Linked DNA regions of Homo sapiens: all the other regions are linked to region 1. The links are contacts of gene promoters, found by promoter capture Hi-C in blood cells and fetal thymus (Javierre and others, 2016). All regions are on one chromosome and are shown on one strand. The core of a region is centred on a gene start or on the middle of the fragment in contact, and the rest is flanking DNA. Distances in the headings are between cores, read along the strand shown.

The links. The method cuts DNA at HindIII sites, captures the fragments that hold promoters and counts their contacts. A CHiCAGO score of 5 or more calls a contact.
Region 2: a contact is called between a fragment that was not itself captured here and the fragment with the promoter of PDGFRA in region 1, in 1 of 17 cell types (erythroblasts). The highest score is 5.1, in erythroblasts.
Region 3: a fragment that was not itself captured here is called in contact with the fragment with the promoter of PDGFRA in region 1 in 2 of 17 cell types (erythroblasts and naive CD4 T cells); the score reaches 6.9 in erythroblasts.
Region 4: a fragment that was not itself captured here is called in contact with the fragment with the promoter of PDGFRA in region 1 in 17 of 17 cell types (naive CD4 T cells, total CD4 T cells, total B cells and 14 more); the score reaches 19.0 in naive CD4 T cells.

What each region holds. Positions count from the first base shown.
Region 1 is chr4:54,226,692-54,234,295 of GRCh38, forward strand. It overlaps PDGFRA (platelet derived growth factor receptor alpha), which reads left to right and starts at 2,602. Exons shown (of 23, transcript NM_006206.6): 1 at 2,602-2,724. RefSeq lists enhancers at 1-246, 1,075-1,900, 6,632-7,182, 6,993-7,112 and a silencer at 6,663-6,772. The HindIII fragment of the contact is 8,996 bases long and covers 1,740-7,604 here.
Region 2 is chr4:53,223,478-53,230,418 of GRCh38, forward strand. The region is part of intron 4 of SCFD2 (sec1 family domain containing 2); the gene reads right to left. Among named protein-coding and RNA genes, the nearest start is that of SCFD2, 140 kb to the right of the region's middle. The HindIII fragment of the contact is 5,659 bases long and covers 1-4,583 here.
Region 3 is chr4:53,205,229-53,212,966 of GRCh38, forward strand. The region is part of intron 4 of SCFD2 (sec1 family domain containing 2); the gene reads right to left. Among named protein-coding and RNA genes, the nearest start is that of SCFD2, 160 kb to the right of the region's middle. The HindIII fragment of the contact is 2,880 bases long and covers 1,209-4,088 here.
Region 4 is chr4:53,187,569-53,194,613 of GRCh38, forward strand. All of the region lies in intron 4 of SCFD2 (sec1 family domain containing 2), which reads right to left. Among named protein-coding and RNA genes, the nearest start is that of SCFD2, 170 kb to the right of the region's middle. The HindIII fragment of the contact is 8,287 bases long and covers 1-7,045 here.

The sequences.
Region 1 (7,604 bases), core at 1,352-3,851:
TGGTCCCCTCCCCCCACCCCCCACACGGTGCCCAGTGAGAAGCACAAGAAGGGGAGAAAAGACCCGCAGCCCGCCTCAGGAGGGCAAGGTTTCTAGCCCCCTGCGGCTCCGGGACCACCCAGGACCCGGGGCGTCGTGGGACCGATCTCGAAGGATCTTAGAACGACACTGGGAGAGCGCGGCAAGAACTAGCCCCACCTTCCCCCGACGCCCCGGACTGACTGCCGGGCGCAGACCCGACTTCTCCCGAACCAGCCTCGGACCAGCCTTAGAAGGCGGAAAACAGGATTCAAACCCGCCTATGAGCAGTGGTAGGGGCGGGGGCTGTGGGGGCAGGACTCGGTTTAAGGAACCAACCGCCTCGGTTCGAGGGCCTCCTGTCCGGAGGTTGCTCCTGACCACTGGGTTTATTTTGCTTTTGCAGAGGAGGCAGATGTTGACCTCTCTTCTTTGCACAGTCTCTCCGCAAAATTTTCCCCCAACCATTTGCTTTCTTGCGCCACCCCCCACCGGGGCACTATCCCTGGAGTCAGCTCCTCAGGCCTTTAAACCTTCCAGAATGTCACACATGGAAACCTTTAGCAAATGTTTGTTAATGATCATAACAAAGGCATCATTCAAATTAGGCAGGTAATTACTACCAGAAGGACAACTGGGTGCTCGCTTGCTCATCCATTGCTTTCTGCTTTAAACTCCCGAGGAGTCGCTGCCTGGAGACACTCCCGCCCGGACTGCTTCTCGGGCCCCATTAAACGGCTCTGAAATGAACTGTGAAGTTACCATTTGTGGGCGGAGAGCGCTGGGGCCCTGCGGACGGAAGACCCTGGCTTGACCGGACTAACAGTGTCGCCGAAGCAAAGCAGCCCCTCTGGGTAGGCTGTCTGTCTCGCCTCCTACCCTCTGGGGCAACTAGCCTAAAAACCCGGTTCTCAACTTAACAGCATGTGGCCCAGCACCCGCTTTTGCCTTTTATTCCGCACTCTGATTTTTGGGGGGATCGTTTGTTCCCGCTCATTTTCTACAAACATTACGGTATCCTGTTAGCATTCCGAACAAGGGGCTGTTCATATATTTGCCTTCAATGATTTCCTGAAGGGACATGTGGAAGTAATAGCGAGCGGTGCAGTCACCCAAGCTGAAGATGCACGAGAGCGGGTCGCGTAGAAGAACTGCGGCAATGGGACCCCCAGCGCAGCCCCAGGCGCCCTGTTTTCGAGGCTGACATCCCAAGATCCTGTCCTGGTTAGGCACAGCACCGCGCCCGTTGGAGTACTTCTCTGTGACTCTCCCCTGTCCACTGCACTGTGTCCACCCTCCTGGTGAAGGAGGAGACGGCTGTTGGACATGCCAGTCCCAACCTGGCCACTTTGGCCATTTTCAGAGTGCGTGTGTTGGGGTGGGGTTGAGGGAGAAGGATGAAGGATGACCCCCAACCCCAACAGGAGAATTCAAAAATCAGAGAGCGATGAAGGTGAACGCGCTCCCCTCCCCCGCTGTCGCTGGGAAGCCCCACTCTGCCCAGGTCTGGTTCCTGGAGCATCAGCGCCCCCTTTCCCTCGCCGGCAGGATCGTTTCCTCCCGACACTGGCCTCTCGCCTTGGGCGCAGGGTTTGGGGCTCAGCTGTCAATTCCAAGGAATTCGTAGGGTTCGACCCACGCGGCGGGAGGGAACGGAGGGAGAATCAAAAGGCATCCTCCCCCACGACGCGGAGGCGGTGGTACGATTCCTCAAACGCCCAAGCTTGAGCTTTTTTTGTATGCGAGATAGAAGCCAGGGCAACCTCGCCCAGATAACCCCGAAAACAAAGGCACGACCAGATAAGTGACTTCAAGGGAGTAAAGGTCGTTCTATCGGAGAACGTTCCAAACCTACACAGACCCTCTTTTCTTTGTACCGTATTTCAGACCACCCAGTCTTGTACACACACACACACCACACAAAACAAAAACCCATCATTGTCATATTGGACTCAACAGTTTGCCCAATCCTATTAAATAACTAGCAACTATATAGCCCTTCCCCTAAAAGACCCCTAGTTCAAAACGGCGCAACCGCTTGGAGATTTCTCCCGAGGGCCCTATTTCTCGTTGGGCCGAGTTTGTAGAAGGGACATTTCTTGATTCTAGATTTATATTCTCTCTGGGTATTAAATGCAATTTTGTATGTTCCTTTTCTTCTTTTCAAAGAGAATACAAAACTATAGCAGTCTAAGAAAATAACCCCAAAATGGGGAGGCAAACTCATTCTGGAAATGATGGGCTGTTTGTAGTTTCACAAAACCTCTTTCCCGGCAGAGCACCAACACCTCCCCCTTCCACCACCCCCCATCCCATCTGGTCTGCTTCTCCCCGCCCCCCAGTTGTTGTCGAAGTCTGGGGGTTGGGACTGGACCCCCTGATTGCGTAAGAGCAAAAAGCGAAGGCGCAATCTGGACACTGGGAGATTCGGAGCGCAGGGAGTTTGAGAGAAACTTTTATTTTGAAGAGACCAAGGTTGAGGGGGGGCTTATTTCCTGACAGCTATTTACTTAGAGCAAATGATTAGTTTTAGAAGGATGGACTATAACATTGAATCAATTACAAAACGCGGTTTTTGAGCCCATTACTGTTGGAGCTACAGGGAGAGAAACAGAGGAGGAGACTGCAAGAGATCATTGGAGGCCGTGGGCACGCTCTTTACTCCATGTGTGGGACATTCATTGCGGAATAACATCGGAGGAGAAGGTAAGGGAAAAGAAAAAATGATTTTTTGTTTATAAGGGAAGTCCCTGATCAGACTCTGGGACTGGAGAAAGCGAAGTAACTTCAAACTTTGGGCGACAAGAAAAAAAAAAAGGAGCTGGATTCCAGTTGTGTGTCCAGAGAGTAATTTTTTTTTTTCGGAATAAACTTCACTTGGGGACGGGTGGGAGATAACCATAGAGTTAGAAAGTCTAGGTATTTTTTTTAAACACACATTTTCCAGACCTATTTTTAAAAACAATGTTTTTCTAACAACCCTATGGCCTCCCAAAGAAATTGTTTAGGCTTACATTTTTGAGGTTTCTTTTGGGAGTGGGGGTGGTGTTCGTGAATACTGGGCCGAACACCAAGGAACTGGGGGTGGAGGCAGAGGTGTTTGCCCTCTTCTTGGCAGTGGGTCCTGGAAGGCGACAGGTTTTAAATGAGTGTTTTCATTCCTCGCCTGCGGTTTGGCGGGACAGCGCTGCAGCCCATGGTGTGGAGCGCGGCTGGGGGACCAGGGGGAGGTGGGGAGAGGGGAGCGTGGAGGGGAGCGTGGAGGGGGGCGCGCGAAGGGGTTGCGGGGCGCAGGAGGCGGGCTGGGCTCGGCTGGAGACCGGACCTCGGTGTTGGCCTACAGCACAGGGAGCCGGCCGAATGCGCGTGATTACTGGACGGCGCTGCTCTGGGAGAGAGTCGGGGCCAGATTTGGCGCGGCGGTGAGGCGGCTGCGGGACAAGCAGAGGCGCGCGGGCGTGGGCAAGGGTTTGGGGCGCTCTGGAGCGGTTTGTTGGGTCAGTGAGGTGCCAGGGAGAGCGGGTGCCTGCCGGGCAGTGTGCTCGGGTTGCACGCCCTAGCGCGGGGGCGACAGCGGCGGCGCGGGCGGGCGGTCTGGAATAATGACAAACACATTTGGCCCTGAGTGAAGAAGTCGTCGTCGCCTCGCATTCCAGCAACTGGGATTTGAGGAATTTCGAACCGCACACCAAGGGGCCCTCATTGTGCTCCGTGGCCCCCGCCCCCGCCTGTCTTCCCGCGCCCCCTCCTCGGTGGAATCATTTCTGCATTGCCCGGGGGCTCTGCTTTCGCTCAGTTCTGGCCGCAGGCAGGAAGAGAGGAAAGGTCTCCAGGAAGGTGCCGAACTTCTTGTGAGGAAGTTAGGGACGACTTGGAACTGGGGAAACTTGTTTGCAGGTAAGACAGAAAGGTGGGAGGTAAACCATATTCTCCCTCCGGGCACCCGAGCCCTGGACACCCCCTACCCGGCACCCTTCTCCGCGCGGGGGTGCGTGGCACTTGCCGTCTGAGCTCGCCCAGCGCTGCTCGGTCCTCTCTAGTTGGCCTTTTTTCCATTCCTCTCCCTGCCGGCTTCAGAGCCGTCTGTGCGTACTTCTCCTTCCTCTGCTGTCTACCCCCATGGAAACCAGATTTACACACGAAATTAACTCCGCCCGGCTGCGCCCAGGGAGCGGGCGGCGTCCATTTGGCATTGAATATGTGGGATCAGCTGTTCTATTCCGGGAGGGTGTCGGCCAGGTCGGAGCGACGAGTGTGGCCCAACCCGAGTACGTTGCCAGAGGGAGCCAGGAGCCTGGGCCGGGCCAGGTGTGCGAGAGCTGCCGATGGCCTGGCCTCGCGTCTTGGTCGGGAAGGACTTGCTGGCCTGGCAGGCTGTGCGTTGTGCATCCCTCCCGCAGCCAGAGCGCCGGTCCCGCACTTCGCTCCCCGAATTGTGCTAAGACCTCAGGATGTGCGCAAGGAGTGCCTGGAAGAACTTGCCACTCACTCCATCTTCCTGGGTGGGAGGCAAGCATGGATGGGGCCCATATCAGGTCCCTACCGCCCCGCGTCCGAAAAGCCGCGGGCTGGGCGGTGTGGGAAATGGCTTTTTGGCTCCGAGGCCAAATTGCTCAATGTTTTGGACCGACTCGCCTCGCCGCGGTCGCTCCTGACAAGAACTAGACAGATTTTTGGAGCAGGGAGCATCCAGGGCAAACGCACGACAGTCCTCCGCAGTGCATCTCACCGGACAAACATCCCCGGAGCCACAGGAGGGGAGGAAGGGGCTCTCCGGGCGTGCGCACCTCCCCAGCCGCCGCGCTGTCCCATCCCCGACCCCTAATCTGGTCAACCTGGACCCCGGCACTGCTGAATTGCATCCCCTCTTCTCCCTTTCTCCTCGGCCTCCTCCTTTCCACAACCCTCAAGATGAGGAGGCCCTGCCTCGACTCCCCGACAGGCGCAAGGCCGACCAGGCTCGCTTTGACGCCCTGGTCAGGCCCTGCTTCGGAGCTTGCAGTTTTGGGTTGACCCAAGTGCAGCTGGACCTCGTTCACAAGAGTGAGGGGAAGCCAAGAATGAACCCGTCGTTAGCCCCCGGTGCCCTGGCTCTTGTTTAAATCCTTAGATCGAGAAGGACTTGAAGGAGATCCCAGGCTCCCAGCTCTGCGCCCCTGGGCCAGTTTCCTCTCGGGACGCGGACTGAGGAGGGATGCAGGGGGAGGGGCATTGGGCCGGGCTTTCCAGCTGCAAACACGTCTGGCGCCGAGGCGGGCCCATTTTGTGCCTCCTGGGGACGGACCGTGGGCGGCGCGCAGCGGCGGGACGCGTTTTGGGGACGTGGTGGCCAGCGCCTTCCTGCAGACCCCACAGGGAAGTACTCCCTTTGACCTCCGGGGAGCTGCGACCAGGTTATACGTTGCTGGTGGAAAAGTGACAATTCTAGGAAAAGAGCTAAAAGCCGGATCGGTGACCGAAAGGTGTGGGTCTCAGGGTTCCCCGGGTCTAACTCGCCGGGTCCAACCGCAGCATCAGCCTTGGGGCGGCAGATAATCTTTCGGTCTCGCCTGGGGCGCAAGATGCAGGATCGGGGGCAAATGGCTTCTCCCAACTTCCCCCTAATTCGGGTTCTGCCAGATGGTTGTCGTTTGCTGAAGTGGCTCGGCGGCATTTCCTTTTGTTTTAAACTGATCAATGAGCGAACCTGGGATGGGCTGAAAAAGTAGATTGTAGGAGGGAATAATGGGAAACCCGACTTGGGGCGCCTCCTTCCCTGCCTCCTACTGCAGTTTCTCGGCCCCCGCGAAAGGGGAGCGACAAGCGCGGGTGGGCGCGGACTCTTGAGGGGGCAGAGGCGGCTATGGCGCGTGTCGGGCAAGGTGGCACCAGAAGGCACTTTTGTGTGTGTGTGTGACAAGAGTCTCGCTCTGTCGCCCAGGCTGAAGTGCAGTGGTGCGATCTCGGCTCACTGCAACCTCTGCCTCCCAGGTTCAAGCGATTCTCCTGCCTCAGCCTCCCGAGTAACTGGGATTACAGGTGCCCGCCACCACGCCAGGCTAATTTTTGTATTTTTAGTAGAGACGGGGTTTCACCATATTGGCCATGCTGGTCTCGAACTCCTGACCTCAGGTGATCCGCCCACCTCGGCCTCCCAAAGTGCTGGGATTTACAGGCGTAAGCCACCGCGCCCGGCCAGGAACGGTTCTTAAATGCCGAGAGGGCGCATGCTAGCTCTCCTCAGCATTCCCGGTGAGCCGCTACCCACGGCCGTGCGGCTCTCGTGCCCATAGGAGGCGCTGGCGAGCTCCTGTAACCCTAAACCCCTCGGCCCCTTTCCCCCCACCCGCCCGGATTCTCTTCCCGCTCTCCCCCCTCTCTCCACACCCGCCCGGCCCCCTCTCGGGTCTCAGTTGAAAACAATGCAAACGCAGAGCGTCGTGCCTGGGGCGCAGCGGCCTCTGCAGCTCTGAGGTTCAGAGCGCGGCGCGCAGGGGCGCAGGGGCGCAGGTCCCCGGAGCGGCTGGGCATCGCCGCCAACCCCGGGACAACCAAGCCGCCGAGGACTTGGTGGAGGTGGGAGGGAGAGCGGACCGCGCAGTGTTCCTCTGGGTCCCGGGGTCAGAAGCCGGACAGTGGCGGGGGCTGGACAGTCCGAGCGCAGAGCCTCCCGGGCGAAGTCTGCGCGCAGCACTCCCGGCTGCGCTGTCGGGGACCAGGAGCCTGGGCTGCGGGCGAGCTAGCTGGCGAGCCGGGTAAGATTCGCGGGGCTGTCGCGCCCTCTAGTGGGCTCCGGGGACGCATCCCGCTTTCCCCAGCCCCGGGCGGTCGGCGCCGCTATCTCAGTGGAGCGCAGCGCTGGAACCCCGGGGGCCCGGAGCGGAGGCTAATCTGGGTCACCTTTCCCCTCCTCCGGGCAGCCAGTGGACTCCTCGCAGGCTCTGTGTGGGCCCGGGAGGCGCCGGGTGGACGAGAGGGGGCCGAGGTCTCTGGGTTTGGATTGAGAATGGGACGTCCTTGTAATTCAATGTGGGAGAAGCAGGGGAGTGTGGAGGAGGACGGGTCCCGTGCGTTCTTGGGGGGCAGGCGCCGTCTTCTGCGTTCCAGCCCCTCGCCAGCTCCCTTGCCCCGCGGGCGGCCTGTTGCTGTTTGTTTGTTTTACGACCCTGCGTTATTGTGCAACGGTAACAGTCGTTTCCAATCAGCTGCGCGGCCGTCGCGGCCCTCGCCAGGCTGGTTTATGGGGGCGGCGGTGGCGCGCGGACAGATAGGACAGCGCGGCCCGGGAACGGCGTCGAGGTCCAGGCGGTCCCCCTGCCCCGAGGGGGCGGAAATGCTGAGGTGGCGAGAGCGTGGGTTGCACAGAACCCTAGTAGCGAGTCCGGCTGAGCCTCTGCGGCCTAGCCCAGCAGCGTCGTCTTCCCGGCTCCGAAGACGTCTTCCCGAAGCCCCGCTGCCCCGGCGCACCAGCTCCCGGTGATGGGGATGATGATGGGGATGATGGGGAGATGTCCCCGAATTCTCCTGGGGTCCCGAGGAGATTTAGCCATTTTCAACAGCAGTTTTCCTATTTCTGCTTAAACCCCGCGGGCTTTCAACTGAGGTCA
Region 2 (6,941 bases), core at 504-3,003, 1.0 Mb before region 1:
GTCACACCCTGCCATGTGAGATCCTGCAACATGCTATGCGCTATCAGAACTCTGTGTCTTTGCATATACAGTTCCCATTGTCTTGCATGTCTTTCCCGTCCTTCCCTAACCGGCAATTCCCTTTCATCCTTCAAAACATAGTCTCACGGAACATTTTCTCATGGAAATCTCGTTTGGCTTGCCTAGATGCAATTATGACTTTTTAATGCCTTTTAAAATGAGCCACCGCAAATAAGTCCACCAATGTGTTTCTTTTCTAACATAAAAGAACTAAAGACAATACTGATGGCAGTTGACATTTATAGAGAGCTCTATTTATGCCAGACACAATGTTAACTACTTTATGCAAATCTCATGGAAGGTTATAAACTTAATATATAAAAAGCTCTTACAAATTACAAAAATAATACTTCTGCATTATAGATACTACGAAACACAAAGAAAATAAGAATCTCACAATCCACCTGAGAGAAGATAAAGATGGTCATAAATTCTTTGCTTCTCCTCCCCTTGGGAGGTGCAGTCTAATTCTTTTCCCTTCATTCTGGGCTAGTCAATTAAGTTCCTTCATTCTAGCTAGTCAATTACTTTCTGGAACTTTCAAGGCTAGGTGATAAAAAGTCTTACATTTGGCTGGGCGCAGTGATTCACGCCTGTAATCCCAACACTTTGGGAGGCCGAGGCGGGTGGATCATGAGGTCAGGAGCTCGAGACCAGCCTAACCAACATGGTAAAACCCCATGTCTACTAAAAATACAAAAATTACCCAGGCGTGGTGGCATGTGCCTGTAATCCAAGCTACTCAGGAGGCTAAGGTAGGAGGATCGCTTGAACCTGGGAGGCAGAGGTTGCAGTGAGCCGAGATCACCCCACTGCACTCCAGCCTGGGCAACAGAGCAAGACTCCGTCTCAAAAAAAAAAAAAAAAGAGTCTTACATTTTCTGCCAGTTCCCGCAGAACAATTTCTCTGGATACCTTAACTTCTGTGTAAGAAGTCTGAATACCCTGAGATTGCCATGATGGAGAGGCCATGCGTAGGCACTGCAGCTGAGTCCATCCTTCTACCTAGTCCCTACAAAGCCCAGATATATGACTGAAGCCATCTTGGATCATCTCTCTACAAGCTGAATAGCCCCCAAATAACCTTAGTAGATGCCATGTAGAGCCAAAGAATTGCTCAGCTCAGCTCTGCCTGAATTCCTCCCCCACAAACTGTGAGCTCTAATAAAATGCTGGCTTTAAGCCACTAAGTTTTGGGGTAATTTGCTATGCAGCAATAGATAACTGAAAAACCTACTACTTAGAAAACTATGATAATAATTGTGATGTATTTTCCAGTATTTCTTCTACTTTATATATCTAATCTCCCTCTACTTTCTTCACCTTTTTTTATTATTTAACAGAGTTAGCTTCATGGTATATATGTAGTTTTGTTTTTCATGAGAATAAACTCTCTTCTATTAACATTACATGAATAACATTTCCACACCTCATTAAAAATATTCTTCAATAACTTAATTTTTAACAACTATAACATGCATTCCATCAATCTCACTGTAAAACATCTAGGTTGTTCCTAATTTGTCATTATTATAAATAAAAACCATAAGGAAAATATTACAACATAAATCATATCACCATATTTGATTATATTCTTAATTATCTTAATCTGAAATGAAATTACCATAAAAAATATAAACCTTTTCAAGGTTTATTGCCAAAGTGCTTTGACAAAATTCACTCTTCCAATAGTAATGTTTCTGAATGAACATGTTACTGAGCTCTACCCAACACTAATTATTATTTGATAATCTTTGATAATTTTAAGTGGTAAATTACATCTCAGCATTGTTTGGGGTTTTTTATTACTAGGAAAACTGAACATTTTTTTCATATGCTTATTAGCCACTATTATTTCCTCATCTGTAAAATGGCTGGCCACATTTTAAAAATCATTTTTTCTGTTGAATGATGTTTTCCTTATCCATATGAACAAATTCTTCACATGTAATATACATCAATCTTTGTCTTATGGCAAATACTTTTCCTATTTTGTTTGCTTTTATCAAGGTGAGTTGATAACACCCTATATAAAATTTTTAGAGCTAATAATAATGGCTAAAATTTGTTGTGTTTTCTATGTTATTGCCAAAGGGCGACTACCTGACATAAATTTTTGTATTCTAAAGACTTAATGAATTTGCTATTATGATTATCCCCTCTAGTTTGCAAATGAGGAAACTGTGCCTTAATGAGGTAGATAATTTCTACCAAGATCACTCAGTAAGTATCAGCAGCATTTAGTTCTAGAACCCTCTAATCTTAAGGTCCTTTCTCTAAACCACTAAGCCATACTATTATCAAATTTGGTGGCTTTCCCCCTTTGTGATTAATGTCATGGCTTTTAGGTTTTTCCCTATTCCAAAATAAACTCAATGTTTACCAATATTTTCCGGTAGTTTACTTGTTATTTGGGGTATTTTTAATTTTTTTAAATTTAACAGTATAGAAATTTGATCTCGCTGTATTGCCCAGATTGGTCTCAACCTCCAAGCCTCAAGAGATCATCCTGCCTTGGCCTCCCGAAGTGCTGGGATTACAGATATGAGCCACTGCAACCAGGCTGGTTTTGGATTTCTAATTTATCTTTTAATATAGCAATAATCACTCCCCTCATCAATTGTTCTTAGCCACATATTAAATATTATTTCTTTTCCCACTGGTTTGTGATACTGCCTTTAACAAATAAAAAAGTCACTAAAATACTCTTGCATCTGTTCCTAAACTATCTTGCAGCAATACAACATTATTGGTAATTATTTTTATGGGGGGGAGGGGACTAATTGCTGAATTAAAATGTAAGGACCAAAACCCAAAAAGACTACTAGAAAATACTGATAAACATTATTGATGTATAATTGATATATATTGATATATAATATTGATAAGTATTATCATATGGGCTGACACAAGTCTTTTTCCCAACATTACTGTTTTTTAGGCTTTTTTGGCTGTTTTCAAGAATAACTTAATCAAATTATTTAAAAAATTTTTCACTAACATTCTGATGAGCAATGAAGTTCATAAAATAAATTGAGAGGAAATTTTTAATGAACACGTACTATCTGCCAGGTGGAAAAATAACAATAAACAAAACATGGGATCCCTGCCTTCAGAGAGCTAAGGAGACTGATAAGTTAGGCAATATTTAAATTAATTGAATTATTTAAATTAGGGTGATCAGTGCAAGAGGATGGGCAGCACCAAAAAAAGGCAGCTTACTTGGACTTGAAGGATGAGGTAACACATATAGGTAAAGAAATGACCCAGTAAAAGAGAAGATCACTGTGGCTGCCTCCTTAACCAGAAACCAACCAACCCTCAAAAACCTGTCTATCACTAACTAAATTATTTTTAACACTCTTGTACAGTTATCAGGGGATTACATTTTTTCTGTGGGTTATTTACCCCGATCTAAAAAAGGTATCCCTAATGAGGTGCATTTCAGCAAACTCCTTGCTGTTGAGGATGTCCTGGACCTTCTCATCCTTTCCTGTCATGCTGTCTTCCTGCGAAAGAAGATGGAGCATGTGGCTGACAGATGGAAAGATGGCCAGTATGTGTGACCTCTGTAAGCGTCTCCTCTGGCCTCTTATCTGAGCATCACCTGACCTTCTTCAGTGATGAAAATCCTTCCTATCACCACTCTACAATTTTCTATAAAAGGACACCAATTATAATTTCAGCCATAGAAAGGTGACAAAATTAAGTATAATGTGAGAAAAGGACATTGTATATGAGAGATGTGAAAATAAATTTTAAAGAGGAAAAAAATGGCAATTTCCTTGATGATTTTTCCTGTCACAGCAAACAGTGAAATTCTCCTGTGTAGCCAATGTTCACAAAGAAATTTAGATCTTAAATAAACCCATATAAGCCATCTATAGAAGGGTGTGCCATAGAGGGGATTCTTGTAAAGATGACGCTAAAGTTCTTCCAAAAATGAGAATCTTGGTATAAAAACGGCTAAGATTTTGAAGTAAATGCAAACAACAATACAAAGTCTTTGCATGAATTTAAAAACTATATTTGTTGTTTGGATCAAGCCTCACTACAGCAGAATACCTTCACCTTTGGGGCTGAGCACTGGGAAGTCTAAACCCTTTATTCCAATATGATTCACCCATCAGTCATAATATATGGCTGGAAAATGGCAAATAAGATGAACTACAAATACTGGAGGGGAGTGCTCCAAACGAAATTCCAGGGTATATATTTATTCATAAAACAAAAATAAGGAATTATTTCTGCAAAAAATCAAAAATTATGAATCTGACTTTATTTGTATTTTCTGATAAATGTATGTACAGATGATTTGCTTATAAACAGGCAGAGCTGCACTTCTCATACTAGAAGTGCAGTTTGACAATTACATTTTTTAATTTATATTTTCAAATAAGCTCTTCAATGTAGTGTGGTAGAGTTATTGAAAGCACAGACTTTGGAGTCAGGCAGAGACAGGATTGAATCCAGGCTCCACCACTTATAAACTATGTAACCTAGGTAAATACTTAACTTCTCTAAGCTTCTGTTCCTTCCTCTGTAAAACAGGAACAAGGATAGTTCCTAGAACTGTAAGGTTTGAATAAGACAATGCATATGAAGCATTTAAGCCTAGTTCTTGTCACTGGGCAAGAGCTCAATGGTGGTAGATGGGGTGGTAGTGGGGATCAACTATCTCATAATTTCAGTACAAACATCTTGTAAAGACTTCAGGATGATTTTACAAAGAACAGGGTAAAAATGGGAGTGGTGTGGTGAAACAAAAGTGATAAGGGTTTCTGGCAAGATTGATACATTTCTGACAACATTAGACCAAGTTAGAGACATGAGCAGCTATAGTCATCCTTCTTCTACGACTCTTGGCAAAAACCCTTATGTACAAGTTGTCACTTAAACTTGTTGTCTTCTGTTGCTTCAACAATAACATTACCTCTTTTATGAGTTTGATGAAGATAAAATAGATACAAACGTTAAGATATTTTCTATATCTCAGATATTGAAATAAGATATGCTTTGACAAAATTCAACAACACTTCATGCTAAAAACTCTCAATAAATTAGGTATTAATGGGACGTATCTCAAAATAATAAGAGCTATTTATGACAAACCCACAGCCAATATCATACTGAATGGGCAAAAACTGGAAGCATTCCCTTTGAAAACTGGCACAAGACAGGGATGCCCTCTCTCACCACTCCTATTCAACATAGTGTTGGAAGTTCTGGTCAGGGCAATCAGGCAGGAGAAGGAAATAAAGGGCATTCAATTAGGAAAAGAGGAATTCAAATTGTCCCTGTTTGCAGATGACATGATTGTATATCTAGAAAACCCATCATCTCAGCCCAAAATCTTCTTCAGCTGATAGGCAACTTCAGCAAAGTCTCAGGATACAAAATCAATGTGCAAAAATCACAAGCATTCTTATACACCAATAACAGACAAACAGAGAGCCAAATCATGAGTGAACTCCCATTCACAATTGCTTCAAAGAGAATAAAAAACCTAGGAATCCACCTTACAAGGGATGTGAAGGACCTCTTCAAGGAGAACTACAAACCACTGCTCAATGAAATAAAAGAGGATACAAACAAATGGAAGAACATCCCATGCTCATGGCTAGGAAGAATCAATATCGTGAAAATGGCCATACTGCCCAAGGTAATTTACAGATTCAATGCCATCCCCATCAAGCTACCAATGACTTTCTACACAGAATTGGAAAAAACTACTTTAAAGTTCATATGGAACCAAAAAAGAGCCCACATTGCCAAGTCAATCCTAAGCCGAAAGAACAAAGCTGGAGGCATCAAGCTACCTGACTTCAAACTATACTACAAGGCTACAGTAACCAAAACAGCATGGTACTGTTACCAAAACAGAGATATAGACCAATGGAACAGAACAGAGACCTCAGAAATAATGCCATGTATCTACAACTATCTGATCTTTGACAAACCTGACAAAAACAAGCAATGGGGAAAGGATTCCCTATTTAATAAATGGTGCTGGGAAAACTGGCTGGCCATATCTAGAGAACTGAAACTGGATCCCTTCCTTACACCTTATACAAAAATTAATTCAAGATGGATTAAAGACTTACATGTTAGACCTAAAACCAGGAAAACCCTAGAAGAAAACCTAGGCAATACCATTCAGGACATAGGCATGGGCAAGGACTTCATGTCTAAAACACCAAAAGCAATGGCAACAAAAGCCAGAATTGACAAATGGGATCTCATTAAACTAAAGAGCTTCTGCGCAGCAAAAGAAACTACCATCAGAGTGAACAGGCAACCTACAGAATGGGAGAAAATTTTTGCAACCTATTCATCTGACAAAGGGCTAATATCCAGAATCTACAATGAACTCAAACAAATTTACAAGAAAAAAACAAACAACCCCATCAAAAAGTGGGCCAAGGAGATGAACAGACACTTCTCAAAAGAAGACATTTATGCAGCCAAAAAAACACATGAAAAAATGCTCATCACCACTGGCCATCAGAGAATGCAAATCAAAACCACAATGAGATACCATCTCACACCAGTTAGAATGGCGATCATTAAAAAGTCAGGAAACAACAGGTGCTGGAGAGGATGTGGAGAAATAGGAACACTTTTACACTGTTGGTGGGATTGTAAACTAGTTCAACCATTGTGGAAGTCAGTGTGGCGATTCCTCAGGGATCTAGAACTAGAAATACCATTTGACCTAGCCATCCCATTACTGGGTATATACCCAAAGGATTAGAAATCATGCTGCTACAAAGACACATGCACATGTATGTTTATTGCGGCACTATTCACAATAGCAAAGACTTGGAACCAACCCAAATGTCCAACAATGATAGACTGGATTAAGAAAATGTGGCACATAT
Region 3 (7,738 bases), core at 1,399-3,898, 1.0 Mb before region 1:
ATGTCCAATTCAGGAGACAAGCACACTGAAAGCTATCATTGCCACTGTCCCATTTACCTCTGTACCACCTTTTTTTACCTGGATGTGCCCCATCAAATAAAGGAAGTAAACCAGGAAGGATAAAAATAAAGAGGTCCAAGAAAAACTGACTCCATCCCAGGAAAAAAGCAAATGAAATGTGAAGAATGACAGCAAAGAAAGATGATGCCTACAATGAGAACTGGAATTCCTAAGATAAAAAGAGAATAGAACAGAGGTTAAAGCAAACAAACAGTAAAAGCAACAACAAACCACAAAACTGCTTGAAACCCTTACACCAACATGATTCATGTTATGAAAAAGTCAAGAACCAAAGATGAAAAAGGCTCTTAAAAGATGGGCAACACTTTGGGAGGCCGAGGTGGGCGGATCACGAGGTCAGGAGATCGCGACCATCCTGGCTAACACGGTGAAACCCCATCTCTACTAAAAAAATACAAAAAAATTAGCTGGGCATGGTGGCAGGTGCCTGTAGTCCCAGCTACTCGGGAGGCTGAGGCAGGAGAATGGCATGAACCCAGGAAGCGGAGCTTGCAGTGAGCCGAGACTGAGCCACTGTACTCCAGCCTGGGCTATTGAGCGAGACTGTCTCAAAAAAAAAAAAAGATGGGCAAAAAGTTAGTAATAGTACAAAATAAGCTTAATAAATTAAAAAAAACACAATTATCAACTCAAAGGAAAAAGTAAATATAATCATAGAACTTTACAACTCTCAGCTGTGAACAGTTTTTGCCTGGGCATTATCAGTACTAATTATTATTACACTAGTCCCCCAAAGTGCAGCAAAAATTTTAGTTAACTTGGTATATTAGCTGTGAGTAATTTTATAGAGTTCAAATTTCACTGTTAGCTTTTTAGTCCACAAATCACTACACAAGTAACAGATGTGCATCTTGGTCAATGACTAATAATGTCACTTCTTTCAAAGTCTGTAGGCAACCAGTTACTGCATATCTCTTATTTGGGTCACACACAGACAGCAAAGTGTGTAGTGCTGTTGCCTCCTTGTCTCCCAATAATAAGCCCATATGACATTTAATTTAAAAAATAAATAACTAAAAGTAGAAATTAGCAAACAGAAGATGAAGATGTTCCAGAGGAAGTGATGCAAGCAAAAAATCTTCACATTAAAGGACCTCTCAGAGATATGCATGACTTTGAATGTACAAAGCTTAAAATGCTGTAAGTTAACCCAAATTTAGAAAGAACTATGACTGTTTACCAAAGCATAGAAAACATGTTTGCTCCATATTGTAAGTTATAGAAGGTGAGAAATCTTCAAACTACTCAAGTTTTTTTAATCGTAAAAACTCCACTGTAATTCTCAATGTTGCCACTGCTTTAAATTACAATATACTAAATAAATACTAATTACCCTATACATGTATCACTGACAGTAATGAGTTTGTAATATTCTGACTAAAATAATTTAATGGTCATGGAACAATTATTATTTTTCATTGGTTATTAAATCACTTTGCATGGCCTCAATTCTGAACAGTCATTTTTACCATCCTACACTACTGTGCAAAGTGAGGATCATATTTGATTTTTAAAGCTATATGCATGAGTTTGCCTGCTAAAAATTAAATTAACAGTGCCTGGTTGTCTTAGTCCATTTTCTGTTGCTATAAGAGAATACAAAGACTAAGTAATTTATAAAGACATGAAGTTTATTTAGCTCACAATTCTGGAGCCTGAGAAGTCCAAGAGCATGGTTCCAGCATCTGGTGAGGGCCTCCTTGCTGCATCATAACATGGTGGCAGGTATGGCATGGCGAGAGGGCATGAGAGCCTGTGCAAAAGAGAGGTACCAGGGCCAGACTCACTTTATAACAACCTACTGTCTAGATAACTAACCTGCTCCCATGATAATACATTAATCCATTAGTGACGGTTTTGCCCTTATGACCCAATTACCTCTTATTAAGCCCCACCTCCCAACAATGATGCATTACGGATTAAGTTTCCAACCTATGAACTTTTGGGGGACACATTCAAACCACAGCACTGACAAAACCTAGGAATGTAATACATTTTTGCTAAAAAAAAAAAAAAAGGATGATGGCAAGAGGGGAGAATTTTTTTTTAAATAGTGCTCACATTTTTCAAACTGCTATACTGACAAAACCAACAATCCTTAGTGTCTGGAAAAGGTCAAACTTGAAAACATCATAAACCAACAAAACATGGCTGAGTAGTTTGAAATATATTATATATATATTTCATATATATATATTATATATATTATATATATAATATTTATATATTATATATATAATATTTATATATAATATATATAATATTTATATATATATAATATATATATAATATTTATATATATATATACAGACCCAAATCTCATGTCAAAATGTAATCCCCAGTGTTGGAGGTGGGGCCTGGTGGGAGGTGATTGAATCATGGGGGCAGATTTCCCCTTTGGTACTGTGAGTGAGTTGTCAGGAGATTTGGTTGTTTAAAAGTTCGTAGCACCTCCTCCTTCTCTCTTCTTCTTTCTCGGGCCATGTGAAAACATGTCTGCTTCCCCTCTGCCTTCCACCATGATTGTAAGTTTCTTGAGGCCTCCCCAGCCATGCTTCCTGTACAGCCAGTGGAACCACCAGCCAATTAAACCTCTTTTCTTTAAAGATTACTCAGTCTCAGGTATTTCTTTTTTCTTTCTTTTCTTTTCTTTTTTTTTTTCCCCCCATACAAAGTCTAGCTCTATCACTAGGCTGGAGTACAGTAGCAAGATTTCAGCTCACTGCAACTTTCACCTCCCAGGCTCAAGCCATCCTCCCACCTCAGCCTCCTGAGTAGCTGGGACTACAGGTGTGCACCAACATGCCCAGCAATTTTTTTCTTTTCTTTTTTTTTCTTTTTATATATATAGAGAGACAGCGTTTGCCATATTTCCCAGTCTGGTCTCAAATTCACGAGCTCATGCAATCCACTTTGGCCTCCCAAAGTCCTGGGCCAGACACGAGCCACCACACCTCGCCAGGTACTTCTTTATAGCAGTGCAAGAACAGACTAATACATTGACATTGAAAACAATAAGCAAGTTTATTGAGCGAAGTAACAATTGAGTAATGCAGGTACATCAACAATGATCTATACATATTTACTAAATAATCCTGTACATGTCACAAACACTTTCCTGCATGTTATCTCTTAATACTCAGAACAATCTGTGACAATGTTATTATAGTTTCTCCTATTTTGTAGAAAAAGACCTCATAGTTCAGCAAAGCTAGGTCCTATCCAAGTTCCCCATAGCTGGGTTTGTGGCAAAGCTGGTGTGCATACCCAATCTCCTGACTCCTAGTCGTGTGTGTTCTATGCTGCACCATGGCAGCAAAGGCTAAGGCAGTGCTCTTACCTCCCAGTCAAAGCCATATACACCTCTCATAATTCCAAAGCAATGGAAGCATATACATTTTCAGAATTAGGCAAAGAAGGAACTAGAAAAATCTTATAAGTTAAATATCTTGTTAAAAGTACGTCTCACATTAAATGATAAATTGATAAACTAAGTGAGCAATGTTACTGTGATTTTTAGCAAAACTAAAAATATTCCAGTGAAAGAGACTAATCTCAAGAAGCTCGGCCCTTTGAAAGTTTGCCTGCCTGCCTTTAGGCAACTAAGGGACTCTTGGCCACAGGAATGTACCCAATATTTGCATTTCTAACAAACCCTAGTTTGAATTCCCTGCTCCTGTGCACAGACTTAGGGTAGAGGATTAAGACAAACCCTCTCAGTTTGCCTGAGTTTGAAGGAGTTACCAGGACTTGGGACATTCAGTGCTAAAACCAGGAAAGTTCCAGGCAAACTGAAATGAGTTGGTCATCCTATGGAGGTTACATGATAGTAAGGGATATACGGTCAACCCTGTGCTGACTTCCTGCTCTCACTCTCCAAGGTCGAAGTCTATACAGATATTAACATAATATCAACAATCCAAAACCTTAGTGCTTAATGCATCCTACCATGCCCTTGATAAAGCTAAATACAATGATACACTAGATGAGGGGGCGGCAGCCAGGAAAGCTTCTCCTTTGAGTAACAGACTTTTGGTTAGTATTTGTGCTCAATGTATCCTTAGGGAACTGGATGCTGAGGTTGGAAAAGTGTGATGACTCTCTTCAAAGACCAAGTGGAAGTTCAGCACTAATGATCAGTTCCTCTTGGAATATAAGAATGTCCATTTGGGTATTCCTTCCTATAGTGTTAATAGTGGGTCAGAAATTATTTACAATGAACATAATTTCATTATACAGTATAGCTTCTGCTTCATTCTTTCACGGATACATGCCCTCACTGTGTATTCAACTAAAAAGCCACTCAGGGAATACCAACTATTGCTAGACACTGTGTTAAGAGTAGAAAAATGATGACATGGTCTCTGTCCTCAAGAAACTATAGTATAAAGAAGTGACATACCAGTGTTCTTACAGTCCTTAGATTGTTTTGCTAGTAACTTTGTAGTCTTCTTTCTCCATTAAAAAAAAAAATACAAAATTGGAAATAGTAGATGATGCATTTTGAGTGTGATTTAGGCAAAAAAGAGGATGGAGAACTCCAATCAGTAAACCCTTTCTCAAAGAAAAGGCCTAGCACTACACCAAAATTTTGGTGAATAAATAGATATTTTACACATTGTAAGTTAAAAAAAAGTTGATGTATGTATGAATCTTTCTATGATTCTCTCTTTTGAAGTGCTTTTTCAATTAACCAATCATCTTCTGGCCCTTATCACCATGGATAAGAAGACTTCAACTATAGTTTTAATTTCAGAAAGTGGGTTCACTCATTCTCAATGAATCCTTTTGATATTTTCATGATACCTTGAGCCAAAGAACCCTCCCATAATAGATATCTGTACTGGATAGACTCTACTTGACTCTAATGCTTAAGATTCTGGGCTCTGAACTGTGGGCAGCTAGGAGAATAGGTGAGTAGGGGTGGGAAAAGGGGCAGGCTGAAGTGTTGATACAAAGAGGCTCAGAAGGGCTTAACACAGGAGTGTGGCTGGAAAGATTTGTGTAGGCCAATAGTTCTCAAACTGTGGTCAGGAAAGTCCTGAGGGAACTTTCCAGGGGTTCCACGAGGTCAAAATTATTTTCATAATAATACTAAGTAATTATTTTTCTTTTTCACTCTCATTCTCTCAGGAGCATAGAGTGAAGTCTTCCAGAAGCTATGTGATGTGTGATACGACAACAGATTGAATGCAGAAGGAGAGACGAGAATCCAGCTGTCTTCTATTAAACCAGACATTAAAGGGATTTGCAGAATGTAAAACAATACCACTCATCTCACTAAATATTTCTGTTCTGAAAAACATATTATTTATGTTATCATATATATTTATTTCTATTTTTATTAATAACGTGCATTATTCTTTTTAATAAATTAATAAGCATGGTATTATGACAGATATTGATTTTTGTCCATTGTTCCTGGCTCGTAACTCCCACAGCCTTTGTTACAGTCTTTTATTATAATGTGGAATGTGTTAGACCTCAGGGGCAGGCTTCTGACCTCCTGCCCTCCTTTCACCTACCCAAGGCAGCACTCTAATCTTCCCCTGCCTTTCTGTTGTGGGTCTTAAGACCCTCCCAGAGATGGTCCACCCCATACCCTGAGGGAAGGAATGCTGCCCTCAAGAAGCCTCCATAAAAACCCAAGACGGGCCAGGCATGGTGGCTTACTCCTGTAATCCCAGCACTTTGGGAGGCTGAGTCAGGCAGATCATGAGGTCAGGAGATCAAGACCATCCTGACCAACATGGTGAAACCCTGTCTCTACTAAAATACAAAAAATTAGCCAGGCATGGTGGCACGCACCTGTAGTCCCAGCTACTCTGAAGCCTGAGGCAGGGGAATCGTTTGAACCCGGGGGGCGGAGGTTGCAATGAGCTGAGATTGCACCACTGCCCTCCAGCCTGATGACAGAGCAAGACTCCATGTGAAAAAAAAAAAAAAATCCAAGAGAACTGTGTTCAGAGAGGTTCCAGATAGCTGAACCCTTGGAGGTTCCTGGAGGATGCACACCCAGGGTGGGCATGGAAGCTCCATTCCCCTTCCCCCATACCTTGCGTTACACATCTTTTCATCTGTATCCTTTGTAGTATCTTTTATAATAAATTGGTAAACGTGAGTGTTTTCTTGAGTTCTGTGAGACACTTCAGCAAATTAATCAAATTCAAAGGGGAGTCATGGGAACCCCAACTTGAAGCTGGTCAGTTAGAAGTTCTGCAGGCCAAGACTTGAGACTGATGTGTTTGGGATGGGGGTCAGTCTTGGGGACTGAGCCCTCAACCTGTGGGATCTGATGCTATATCTCTGGGTAGATAGTGTTGGCACCAAATTGGATGATGCTCAGCTGGTGTCCGCTGCTTTGTGTGTGGGGAAAAATCCCCACGCATTTGGTCACAAATGTCTTCTTCTGTGTTGATGATTGTTGTAGTGTGAAAGTAGAAGAAAAGCATGGTTTGAGAGTTTTCCTCCATACAGTCAGTAGTTTTAAATTTTTCCATTTTATTTCTAAGATGGTTGATACCAATAAATATAATCCATTTAAACAAAAGCTCTTTGGAGCCCACAATAACATTCAAGAATGTAAAGGGGTCCTATGACCAAAAAGTTTGAGAACCACTGGCTTAGACCATACACTGGAAAACCAAAACTACCAGCTAAAGAGTTTGAATTTTAGGCTTAACAAGGCTAATTTCTGCCTAGCATTTTACTACTTCTCCTTCACTTCTTCCCTTCTTCAGTTACCTTATAATATTGGATGGATAGTACACCCCCCAACCAAAATTTCCTCCAGCTGAATGTTAAATCACTCAGGCATGGCACCTCTATTCCTTCTGCTGGGGAAAAATAAATCAGAACTTAATAGAATCCACTGTTGGGAAAGCATTCTCCACCCCTCAAAATCAAACGCTCCTTTCCTACCCCAAAGTCGGTAAAGTTAACCATACATTATAGCTTATAAAGGACCAGGACTTCCAAAAGTCAAAACAACACCAAATGTGGAAAGCACATTTAGCTTAGTGTAACTCTCAGAGCACCCAAAGTGACATAACCACAATGAAATCAATTACCTAGTCAGCAGGTGTTTGTCCATGTCACTTCCCAAACCAATAACATAGTCCAGGAAAGGCTGGAAACAGTATCCAAATTAAAAGAAAGCAAAAAATAAATAAATAATAATAATAATAAATAATTTGCCCATGAACAAAGAACCCACACAATATAGTATTAAGGAGATGGTAAGAGAGAGAGGAAGAAAGTGAGCACGTGTGTGTGTGTGTGTGTGTGTGTGTGTGTGTGCATGTGGTGTCTGTGTGTGTTGACGTGGAAGGGATAAAGAACTATAAACAAATGATTAATATTCATTAAGGTACAAGGAAAACTGTTCATATTATGAATAAAATTTTAGAGTAGTTGTTTTTCTATAATTGTTATATGGGATCATTTTTTCTCTTGAGGTGATGGTAGTTTTAAAAAGGAAACCAAATGAACTATTCAAATTCTCCTTCACAAGTGAACCTTAACTCATCACAATGATTACACGGTTTTTTTTTTTAACCAGCACACATTATTTCTTCTATCTTGTTAACAAATACAGTTGATTTTTAAAAATTCTACACATGAGAGAAAAGCCAGCAAACTAGGTGCAGGTAGACAG
Region 4 (7,045 bases), core at 2,640-5,139, 1.0 Mb before region 1:
GACTAGTTAGTAAACTAAATACCTTTACAAAACTGACTGCTGTGATCTTGTGGGAGATACTTAATGCCATAAATGAAACAAATATGATATAACAGCTTATTATATGGTCCCATTTTCATTAAAACAACAACAATAACAAAATGTGTGTAGGTATGAGTGTGTGTATATACACACACAAGAAAGATCTGAAAGGAAAGATATCAAAATGCTAACACTGATTATCTCCAGGTAATAAAATTATAGATGACTTTGGAAAACCATAACATTTTCTAAATTCTTTATGATAAACATATCTTCATAATTAACAAAATAAAAATTATCTTTCCAAAAGGAAAAATTAAACATCAAGAGATATTCTTGCCCATTGTTCAGGTAGAATATATCTTTAATTGTGGCTGCACTGTGCTCCTTATAAAAGTCATACAGTAATGAGCTTCAGCCCACAGGTTCTATTGGTACAGAAACAGCTCAAGCAGTTTAGCAGAAAAATTCAATCAAATACAAAAAACAACTCAAGGGAACATCCTATGCTTAATGGTTAAATGGCAATAGAAAAAAAGACAAATAACTAAGCAGTACTGGATAAAGCTAAAACCTTAATCTCATGCTTACTCAGCAGCAAAAAGAAAAAGCAAAGCAAACATTAATTATGGAAGATTTAGTGATCTGTATGGTTATAGTTGTAGAAACACTTCCAATCTGTGTTTACCCACGCTGTAACTCATTGCTTTCTGCAAATTTAAAGAAACCTTTTGCCTGACAGTTCAAATGCTTGGTTACAGCTAAGGGAACAATAGTTCAACCACTTTGAAAATAGGCTAGAGGACAAAGTCCTCACACTTCAAAACTGGTGTGTGTGTGTGTGTGTGTGTGTGTGTGTGTGTGTGTGTGTGTGTTTAGTGGCTTTCCAACTTCATAATAAATCTACGAAAGGGCCAACTTCATAAGGGAGCCAGTCTGAATACAAATATATTTAGCCCCATCCTCCCTACATGGCAAGGAAGGAGCAGGCACATCACTATGTAACTAGATTGCACGTTCATTCATTCTTAACGACTGTTACCAAAGATTCCCAAAGTAAACAGTAGTGAAAGCCATGGTATTACAGTATTGAAAGCAATCTATTAACTCATGCCTTTTCAAAACCAATGAGAGAATAGACCTAGTTGAAAATTCTTAATTCCATCTAGTAAGATAAATCTTGAACACAAAATGCTAGAAAAAAGGGCGGGGAGGTCTAAGTACATAACTGTTTAAATTGTCTATCCAGTCTATCCCAAATGCAGTGCTCACTTGTTTTTTTCCTGCCCAGCATCCATTGCCCCTTCTCTGAATAATAGCACCCAGTTTTTATTTAGGGGACTCTCCCATTTTGGTTCATATGATCACCTCCATTTCCAAACTTCAGGAACTGACAGGTAACTCAGGAATGCTCATGCAATGTATTCATTCCCCTAGACAGAATAAATATTCATCAAGCACATAGCCCAAGCTAGTCCCACTGGTGACAAGAATTATCAGCCTTAAAACTTTTCTCTAAGCTCCTGGGAAAGAAGCACGTTCCTTTTGCTGGAGTTTCATGCTGAAAGAATGTAAGCTATTGCTGTTGGGCACAGCTTTGCCATCACTTGGAAAGAGGATATCTAAAAACAAAACAGTAAAAAAGTGAGTAGGATTAAAAAACAAAGAAAAACAGATTCCTGATAAACTATTTTTAAAAGCTGGATCCAAACATGCCTGAAGCTATTCATCACCATCTGATTTAGATTCTGTCACATGAGACTAAAAGGAGACAATAAATATGGGGGAAAGGAAAGTTAGATGGTTGTCCCTTCCCTCCCCAGTTGATCTACCTGTCTTGGTCAGCATGGGTTACTATAACAAAATATCATGGACTGGGTAGCTTAAACAAGACATTTCTTAGCTTGCAAACTTCGCTTCCTTCTTGGCTGTATCCTTGCATGGCGGGGCCTGAGAGAGCAGTAAGGGAGGAATTCTCTAATTTCTTCTTATAAGGGTACTAATCCCATTATAAGGACCCCACCCTCATGACCTCATCTAAACTTAATTACCTCTCAAAGGCCCCACCTCCAAATACCATCACATTGGAGCTTAGGGCTTCAACATAGGGATTTGGAAGAGACACAAACATTCAGTGCATAGCACTACCTAAATTGCTTTTAGACACACACAAAATAGACTGGAGGAGGTTACTCTATGCTACCTCCAAGCAGATCTGTGTGACTGTCATTGTACTAGAATACATCACCAGAATATTGGCTACATCCTTAAGTGTATATCACTGCTTACTCCAAAGCCTAACCCAGTGCCTAGAACACAACATCACCCAATAAATTTTTGCTGAAAAATGAATACGTGAATTAACTAATCTTTTGGGACTTATTTTCAATACAAACTAAACAATAACATGAATGCTATAATAAAGATATCAGTAACATGATATGAAAATACACAGAAAGGTCTAACTCTATATTGGAAACCAGATAATCTGGAGTCACATTCCAATATTTAACTGATCTGAATCCCTCCTGAAACAGTCAATGTATCTCCTCATCTTCTCCTTAGCCTTATCTTCAACAGGCACAAAATACTTTAATAATGAAAAATAATCCCCAATCACTGGCATCTTCTACTTGACTACTGAGAAACAGCTCTGAAACTGTAGCATAGACAGATGTTGGCGTGTGTGTTTTGTGTATGTGTCCTTATCATGGTCTACAAGGCCCTACAGGCTCTGTTTGACCTCGGCTGTTCTCCTTGCCTGCTGTGCTCCAGCCACATGGGCATCCTTGCTCTTTGAAAACACCTGGCACTTCTCATCTCGGGACCTTTGTTTTTGCTATAACCTCTGCCAATAGATGATACAAGTGGCTATTCCTTTTCAGGTGTTTGTCCAAATGTCACCTTCTTAGTGAGGCCTTCTTGACCCTCCTTTTTACAATTGCAAACTACTCCACCTCTAATACTTCCTATTCCATGGCATTTATCCACGGCATTATACTTTCTAATATATGATTCACTTATTTATTTTCTTCATCGTCTATCTGTCTTCCCATACTAAAAGATAAACTCCATGAAGGCAGAGATTTCAGTCTGTTTTTTGTTCTCTGTTGAATCCTCAATGCCAAGGAAATAATAGATGCTGAATAAATGAACGAAGAAATATAACACAAGAGAACTACAACTAAATCATGAAGTGCTCTGATTCAAATTAAATATGAAGATTTTCCAATCAAATAAACTACAGAAGGTTATGTCTGTGAACTCCTTCAGAAGTTAAAACTAGAGAATTCCTATAAATATATTTAAAACCATAATCACTATAAAATATTCCCTTATATTACAGAAGTTAAGACATAAAAATTATTTAAGAAATGAAATGTGTTATCACAAAAAACTACACCAATAACCAGAAAGTATAAGGGTTGCATTTACTTTGCTTTAGATCTAAAACAGTATTAAATATAAAATTTGAGGGCAGAGTGCTGTGGCTCACGCCTGTAATCCCAGCACTTTGGGAGGCTGAGGAGGGCAGGTCACTTGAGGTCAGGAGTTCAAGACGAGCCTGGCCAACATGGTGAAACCCCCATCTCTACTAAAAATACGAAAAATTAGCTGGGCCTGGTGGCAGGTGGCTGTAATCCCAGCTACTTGGGAGGCAGCTGAGATCGTGCCACTGTACTCCAGCCTGGGCAACAGAGCAAGACTCTATCTCAAAAAATAAGAAATAAATAAACAAACGAACATAACATTTGAGTGATATTCATTAGCAAAAAAATCAAGTGTGAAAATATTCATAAATTATGGTTATATGGGTTTTGTTTTTTGTTTTTTTGAGATAGAGTCTCACTCTATCACCCAGGCTGGAGTGCAGTGGCACGATCTCCGCTCACTGCAACCTCTGCCACCCCGGTTCCAGTGATTCTCCTGCCTCAGCCTCCCGAGTAGCTGGGATTACAGGTGCATGCCACCGTGCCCAGCTAATTTTTGTATTTTTAGTAGAGAAGGGGTTTCACCATCTTGGCCAGGCTGGTCTTAAACTCCTGGCCTCGTGATCCACCTGCCTCGGCCTCCCAAAGTGCTGGGATTATAGGCGTGAGCCACCGCGCCTGGCTGGTTATATGTTCTCTTACAGAAATTAAATAAGTAACTGTCATAGAAAACAATAGGAACACACTTTGTGACTGCAAAAAGGTTTGTCTATTGGAAAAACAGAAAGCACCAATTAGAAAGGGGCTTCCTGGATGCAAAAAGTCCCACTTCTACTGCTTGTAACAGTCCCTGTCCCTGGAGCACTCTTTTCCTGATTTCCTTTCCAGTAGAGACCACTCTAGGTAAATGGAAAGATAAGTTTAGCCCTGGCTGTCCCCACATGCCTTAACAGGGGAACAGTAATATTAACATTTAATGTCAGGAATCCCCAGCTCTGGACTCTGGGAGTCAAATGTTTTGTTTAGCAAAAAGAGTGTCTTGAAAATTAACAAATTTCCCATTACAAATTCAAACTGCTGACTTCTCTTAAAAATCTGCAACTTTAAGCAACACCGAAGTTGAACTGCTTAATAAAAAGAGGAACTAAAGAGTAGTTGCCCCTTGACACTAGGCACCTGTTTTCAGGTTCACCACTGTCCCCACGACTCCCTATTGTCTTACATCTTGTTTCTACTGCCTGCCTGGCCAGGGAAGGGTTGAAAGTCCTGCTGTATATAGTCTAGTACCTTTCCTTATCGTTTGTAAGCATGAACCCTTAACTCCCTGCATTCTGTTGTTTGATTCATTAAACTCTTAACTCCTTCTGCCGTAGATTTAAATCCTACTGCAGAGTAACATGAAATCAAGGTCAGAATCAAATTTTCTAGGGGAAACTGAGTGAGGGGTATATAGGAACTCTCTGTACTATCTGTGCAACTTTTCTGTAAACATAAACTACTGTATTCTAAATAAAATGTTTATTTAAAAAATCAGAGGGGAAAGCATGAACTATTCAATAAATGGCAACGATACAAAAGAAAACCCCACGAATTGCCATTCTTGACCCACTCAATGTATGACTGCGTGCAAGTCACTCATCCTCTCTTATCTACAAAATGGGGATGGTAATTCCTCCTCTGCCTTACTCACAGTTTTGCTGTGATGATTAAATGGGATAACAGATGTAAAAGGTCATGGAAGAGCTGTCACTGTATAGTAAATGCTAATCTTACTATAGTAAGTGTACTAATAGGATATTAGTAATATATAATAAATGTGCTAATAGGATAGCACATTTAAAAATATTACAAAACAACAGCATCTTATAAGAATCTTTAAGGATGTTACACCAAGAAGGTTTGATTATCTATACATGGTTAATGGCACAAAAGAAATTATGAAGCCTAAGATTACATACTCAGGAAATATAAAAATATACAAATTAAAAACAACCTCCTTATTGTAAACGAGTTGTAAGCATAAATTACATCTAACTTGTCAGACTGCTAAACTGAGAAATGGCTAAATTTCCTGAAAACTAAGGATAACTTTAAGGTCAGCCAAATAAAGTTTTCAGGAATAATATATATGACCAAAACAAGTCTATCCAGGAATGACAATGTTAAGAAGTGAACAAAATTCATCTGTAAAGGAAACTAAGACAAATGTTGATATTAAAATGTATGTAATGAACTAAGATTACCACTACCTCCAAGGAGAATGTAACAGGATTTCTTAAGTGGTTAGTCAGCTTTAGGATTCCAGACAGTCAAGGTTGCTGTGATTATCTGTTTCAAAGAAACAGGTCTACAGAATACAAGTATATTCTGGTAACAGTAACCAAAAGACAAAAAATAATTTAAGAAGTACTTGAGGCATCGTGTCACTACATCCATCACTTAAATCTATGGACTTCAGTAATTTGCTATTGAAAATTAATCAAAATGGTCCACAGGTCATTGGTCAGGTTTATTCAGTCATCAAAAAACCTCGCCTAATTAACCAAATAGATTATGAAAAATGTCTTCTCTGGAAACCTTCACCTTACCAACAAAGGGAACTTTTGAGACTAAACAAAGCCAAGAGCAGTTACTTATATGCCAAATTAAGACCTCTGTTTAAGGGGGAAAAGAAAAGTACAATGGAGTACATGAAGAAATATTTTTCTTGCCTTTTTAAAAATATAGAACTTTGAGTACTTTTTGTTTCTATCACCGTTGTTTTTAAAATATTTTATTCTTATCAAAGTAAAATATAAGCATGGTTCATAAGATTCTATTCAAATAGGACAGAATAATTTACAATGAAAAGCAGCAGCCTCCTACCTCACCCCTTCCCAAGTCTGCGCCTACTTCTCAGAGAAAATCACTTTGGGTTGATTTTTGGTTTGGGTTACTCTGGCGATCAGCATCAAGTCATAAAATAGAGTGCTATAATTACACCACTTCTTTTAAAAATCACTTTTTTAGCACTTTCTATTGGCTTCCTACTATGATGGATTAGAATTTAGCTTGCTTGCATCCCCACCCTACACATACAACCAACATATACACAGACAACGTACATTTATATAACACCTTTGGTTTCTCTATTGATTACCTTCTTCATTTAAAATACTATAGTTACACTTTTGTCTCTTCTTCCATCAACTATAGAGCATCCTTTTTGTCTCGTGTGTAAACATACTAACGAATGCAGTTTTCTTTTCCTTTTCACTCCTCCTGTCACTACTACTACCACTATGTTAGCTTATACCTCTGAGATTCTCTTTCTTTTGGTCAATGCTTATTCCAATTATGTAAAGAAAAAACTCACTATTATCTATTAAAACCTTTTTAGAACCTATAATTATATAAGTTATTGCTAGCAGTACATTTGTGCCTCACTTTTGAAGACTATTATTCACTATGAAAATCCACTCTAGTAACACATATATTCTTTTCTTCATATTACGGATGAACATAGATCAAATTTCTTAAAGAACTAAGTTTTACTCAGCCAAAGAAGTACCAGTAGTTTCAATTTATTGTTGAAACTAGAGGCTTTCCATAGT